Linked DNA regions of Homo sapiens: region 1 is linked to region 2. Evidence: promoter capture Hi-C in human tissues and cell types (Jung and others, 2019). All regions are on one chromosome and are shown on one strand. The core of a region is centred on a gene start or on the middle of the fragment in contact, and the rest is flanking DNA. Distances in the headings are between cores, read along the strand shown. Region 1 has its middle 12 kb from the start of TFAP4. Region 2 holds the start of ADCY9 (adenylate cyclase 9).

Evidence for each region. Contacts are between HindIII fragments. The study calls those that stand out against the background at their distance.
Region 1: a contact is called between a fragment that was not itself captured here and the fragment with the promoter of ADCY9 in region 2, in 1 of the 25 tissues and cell types used here (IMR-90 fibroblasts).

Annotation. Positions count from the first base shown.
Region 1 is chr16:4,283,291-4,285,990 of GRCh38, reverse strand. No RefSeq gene overlaps it. Among named protein-coding and RNA genes, the nearest start is that of TFAP4, 12 kb to the right of the region's middle. The HindIII fragment of the contact is 7,021 bases long and covers 1-2,700 here.
Region 2 is chr16:4,115,101-4,117,800 of GRCh38, reverse strand. ADCY9 (adenylate cyclase 9) reads left to right here and starts at 1,359. Exons shown (of 11, transcript NM_001116.4): 1 at 1,359-2,111; 2 at 2,316-2,700. The coding sequence starts at 2,359. RefSeq lists a silencer at 1,152-1,221. The HindIII fragment of the contact is 7,185 bases long and covers 1-2,700 here.

The sequences.
Region 1 (2,700 bases), core at 175-2,674, 170 kb before region 2:
GCCCGACTAATTTTTGTATTTTTAGTAAAGATGAAGTTTCACCAGTTGGCCAGGCCGGTCTCGAACTCCTGACCTCAGGTGATCCACCTGCCTCAGCCTCCCACAGTGCTGGGATTACAAGCGTGAGCCACTGCCCCTGGCCTTCCCTTTTTTTTTTTTTAATTATTTTATTTTATTTTGTTTTGAAGTATTTCACTCTGTTGCCCAGGCTGCCTTTGCAATCCTGGACTTGGGGGATTTTTCTGTCTCAGCCTCTGGAGTAGCTGAAATTACAGATGTGTGCCACCACACTCTGCTGATTACTTTCTTTTTTTACAGAGACCCACCTTTTATTTGTATTTATTTATTTATTTATTTATTTGAGACATGGTCTTGCTCTGTTGCTCAGGTTGAAGTGCAGTGGCATGATCACGACTCACTGCAGCCTTAACTCCTAGGCTCAAGCAATCCTCCCGCCTCAGCCTCCTGAGTAGCCAGGACTTCAGACATAAGCCACTGTGACCGGCCAAGAGACCCACCTTTTACAGGGCAAGTGGTTTGTTTGCCAATTTTCACTGCCCCACCACATGAGGGTGTTTCGAGTGGGAAGCAGGTGCACCCTGTGTGAACAGCAAAGCCCAGCGCATGCCTGCTGCCTCCCACCTGCTGCCACGTAGAGCTGGGAAGGGGAAAGGCTGAGCCCCACCTCCGACCTTCCCTACATATCAGGAAATCTTGTCGTTCTCCAAGGTCAGCTCAGACGCCTCTGGCCACTGCCGCCCATGGCAACTTGGTGCCAGGGATGACAGCAACCAACACTCATTGATGCCGTGACATGCCAGGCTGTCACCAGCTTTTCACAACAGCCCTGCCAGGGAGATGCTGTGTGGCTTTCATTTTGCAGATGAGAGAGCAGAGTCAGGTTAGTAGGGTTGGGGTTCAGGCAGGACCTGGATTCTGTACCACACTTCGTGGCTGCTAGTGGTTTCTGGAAGTCTGTTGTCTGAAGAGCAGGGAGTGTGTGTAGACAGAGACAGGTCTGAGGGCTGTGCCGTGGGCATGTCCTAGACGCAAAGCAAAAAAAGAATTTCAAGAAGGTCAGATGCAGTGAAGGCAGAAAACAGAGACCCAGATGTAGCATCCTGGAGGTCCTCGTGACTTTGAAAAGAGAAGGGTTTGTGTGTGTGTGTGTGTGTGTGTGTGTGTGTGTGTGTGTGTGTGTTTTATTATTTATTTATTTATTTTTGAGACAGTCTCACAGTTGCCCAGGCTGGAGTGCAGTGGTGCGATCTCGGCTCAGGTGCGATCTGTTGCCCAGGTTCAAGCGATTCTCCTGCCTCAGCCTCCTGAGTAGCTGGGATTACAGGTGCCTGCCCTTGCGCCTGGCTAATTTTTGTAGTTTTAGCAGAGATGGGGGTTTCACCATCTTGGCCAGGCTGGTTTTGAACTCCTGACCTCGTGATCCACCTGCCTTGGCCTCCCAAAGTGCTGGGACTACAGGCATGAGCCACCGCGCCCAGCCATATGTGTTTTATTTTGGAGACAGGGTCTCACTCTGCGGTCTAGGCTGGAGTGCAGTGGTGCACTCTTGGCTCAAAGCAGCCTCAACCTCTTAGAATCAAGTGATCCTCCCTCCTCAGCCTCCAGAGTAGTAGCTGGGACCAAAGATGTGCATCACCACACCTGGCTAATATTTTAATTATTTATAAAGATGAAGTCTTGCTATGTTGCCCGGCTGGTCTGGAACTCCTGGGCTCAAGCCATCCTCCTGCCTCCTGCTTTGACCTCCCAAAGTGCTAGGATTACAGAAGTGAGTCACTGCCCCCATGCAGTCATGGGGGTGTGATGGAGTGAGCAGGAGGGAAGGGGAGAGAGTGAGTGTGAACATCCATTTCAAGGAGTTTTGCTGTTAGATTCCAGAGCTGGGCTGGGCGTGGTGGCACATACCTGTAGTCCCAGCTACAAAGGAGGCTGAGGCAAGAGAATGGCTTGAACCTGGGAGGTGGAGGTTGAAGTGAGTGGAGATCATGCCACTGCACTCCAGCTTGGGTGACAGAGTGAGACTGTCTCAAAACCAAGAAAAGAGAGCAGAGCTAAGGGGATCTAGGGTCAGTCCGTTGGTTTGAAAGGAGAATAGTAACAGCTTGTTAGTAATGGGTATGATCCAAAAGACGGTGTGCACTGAAGACAAAGGAGAGAGGACAGTTTCTGGAGTGACGGCTCTGAGTTGTGCAAGTAGAAGGGTCTTCTGTGCATGAACAGCATGGATGCTCATCCAGAGACACTGGCCGATGGCAGTTCCCAGGCACAGAGAGGGAGGCAGTGGCGGGCATGGCAGCCTGTGGAAGGTCTCTTCTAATTGCTTCCATTTCCCTCAGAGGAACGGGAAGTGAGCTACAAGCAAGGAGGAGGTGCTAGAGGGCTTGAGGGGAGAGGAGAAGGAAGGGTAGGAAGAAGGGGCCAGGGCAACAGGATGCAGTCACAGCAACCCCCAGACCCACTTGAGGGTATGGATCAGGCACTTAAAAATAAGAGCAGTGGCAGGCTGGGCGCGATGGCTCATGCGTGTAATCCCAGCACTTTGGGAGGCCAAGGCGGGCGGATCACCTGAGGTCTGGAGTTCGAGGCCAGGCTGACCAACATGAAGATACCCCATCTCTACTAAAAATACAAAATTAGCTGGGCATGGTGGTGGGCACCTGTAATCCCAGCTACTTGGGA
Region 2 (2,700 bases), core at 110-2,609:
ACCACGTCCGGCTAATTTTTGTATTTTTAGTAGAGATGGGGTTTCTCCGTGTTGGTCAGGCTGGTCTCGAACTCCCGACCTCAGGTGATCCGCCCACCTCGGCCTCCCAAAGTGCTGGGATTACAGGCGTGAGCCACCGCTCCCGGCCTAAACCACTTTAAAGTGTATGATTCAAGGGCAGTATGTAGATTCATCCTGTTGGATCATTTCTAGACTTTTTCATCATCCTAAAACGAAACCCCAAGCTGCTTATCTTCCTCCCCTAGCACCTGGCAACCTCCAATCTGTGTCGCCTCTACGGATTTGCCAATTCGAGACATTTCATCTGGATGGAATCATACGCTATGTGGCCTTTTTTGTTTGGCTTCTTTCACTAGCATAACGTTTCCCGGGTTCCTCCACACTGCAGCATGCATCGGTGCTCCATTCCTTTTTGTAGCCGAATAATATTCCATTGCATGGACAGATCACATTTTACTTTTATTTTCTAATTCAACAGTGAGACCTGGTGTGGGCCCCGGCGCTGGGCCTGGGAGGCGAGGGAGGGGATGGAAGAGAGCCCCGTGACTGGCAGGAGGCACTGTGGAGTGTGGGGAGAAGGGGTCGGGATCTGCATGCTAGAGAGAATAGGATTTTATTTACACGTGGCAATGTTTATGGAGGCCAATGCACAACTGCCATTATGGGACGCGGACTCCTTTGAAAGTCTCATTTGTGTAAAAGGAAAAGCAGTAGTTCATGAGGAGGGGGAGAAGGGCTCAAGGACAGCAAGGTAAACTACCCCTGGGGCGGGGGAACGTGGTCGTCGGTGGGCCCAGCTTTGGAGGCTAGGCCCGTGAAGGTCGCCCCGTGAGCAGGTCCAGGGCAGGCCGAGTGCCCCGGGGCCCGCATTCATTGCTTACAGAGCAAGGGGAGCCTCCCGGGAGGGAAATCCAACGGTTGGAAACTTCGATTTATCCCAAAGGCGTGCCGAGTGGGAAGGCAACATTTTGATTTCCCAAACGTTGCGGCCAGCGGCTTCTTCCACGGCAGGCGCCTTCAGGTCTCTCCGCAGGGTCGGGACCCCGGGCGGCGCGCGGCCTCTGGGACGCCGAGGGAGGGCGGGCCCACAGCGCCCGGAGCGCGGACAGCGGCCACAGCCCGCCGCCTAGAAGCGGCGCCGCCCGGGGCGGGGGGCGGAGCCGAGCGCGCGCCCCGCCCCGCCCCGCCCCGCCCCGCAGCCCCAGCCCAGCGCGCGCACCAAGGCGGGGCGGCGCGCGGCCCGTGCGCGTGTCCGGGGCCAGGAGGCGGTGGCGGCGAGCGCGGGCCGCGCGTGCGCGCTGCGGCTGGGCGAGGGGCGGCGCGGGCGCGCGTCTGTCAGTGACAGCGGGCGGGGCAGGGGCCGGAGATGGTGGCGGCGGCAGCTCTTCCGACATGAGGCAGCGGCCGCGGGGGACACGGCGGCGGGCGCGGCGGCGGCCGCATCTCTAGCTCGGGGAGGCGGCCCCCGGCGTGGGCGCGGGCGGGCGGGCGTCCCGGCCGGCGTCGCGGGAGCCCGGCTCTGCGGCAGCGTCTGCACCGCCGCCCGGCGAGGGGCCCGCGTCCGTGGTTCCACGCGCTCGGTCCCGGGACAGCTGCGGCCGCGGCGGGAGCGGCGGCGCACTCGGGGGGAAGCAGGCCCCACTAGACGGGCCGCGCCGACGGGCTCCGCGCACTCGCAGCCCGGGGCGCCCCCACCCCCAGCGCCCGCCGCCGCGGGCAGGGCCGGCCCGGAGCGCGGGGGGCGGCCGGGGAGCGCGAGCCGGGGGCGCCCGCCGAAGCTCGCTGCTCCGGGTCGGGGTCCGGGCCCGGGGCCGGCCGCGCGCCGCCTTTGACGCATCGGAGCGCGGCTCCTGCAGGATGGAGGGCTCCGCGCCGCCAGCGGAGTTGTTTGTGCGCAGGCGGCTCGCGGGGCTGGGAGCGCTCAAGGTCTGAACTTCCCTCCGGAGCCGCAGCTGGAGGAGGCGAGCGCGCGAGGAGGAGAAGCCGCGCGGCGCGGAGGCCACCCTCGGGGCGAGAGGCGCGGAAGGCGAGCGAGCAAAGCGGTCCCGGAGCCACGGCGGCCACGCGGCGGGGACCCCCGGGCGTTCTAGGTCCGTCCCGAGCGGTTCTCGTGCGCCTCGAAGGTGGGGGCGGTGGGGGCGGTGGGAGCACCGCTGAGCCGGGAACCACAGGAACAGATGGTGCCTGTCCAGGTCGCGTGCTGGAGCCGCCCCTTAGGACAGGAGCAGGTCCCGGGCCTCTAGGCGTGCATGCCTAGGTGGGAGCGCCGCTAACTCTCCCCGTTTTGCTGGCAGGTACTGGTGACCCCGGCCGGGGCAGGCCCCGGGACTCGACAACATGGCTTCCCCACCCCACCAGCAGCTGCTGCATCACCACAGCACCGAGGTGAGCTGCGACTCCAGCGGGGACAGCAACAGCGTGCGCGTCAAGATCAACCCCAAGCAGCTGTCCTCCAACAGCCACCCCAAGCACTGCAAATACAGCATCTCCTCTAGCTGCAGCAGCTCTGGGGACTCCGGGGGCGTCCCCCGGCGAGTGGGCGGCGGAGGCCGGCTGCGCAGGCAGAAGAAGCTGCCCCAGCTGTTCGAGAGGGCCTCCAGCCGCTGGTGGGACCCCAAGTTCGACTCGGTGAACCTGGAGGAGGCCTGCCTGGAGCGCTGCTTCCCGCAGACCCAGCGC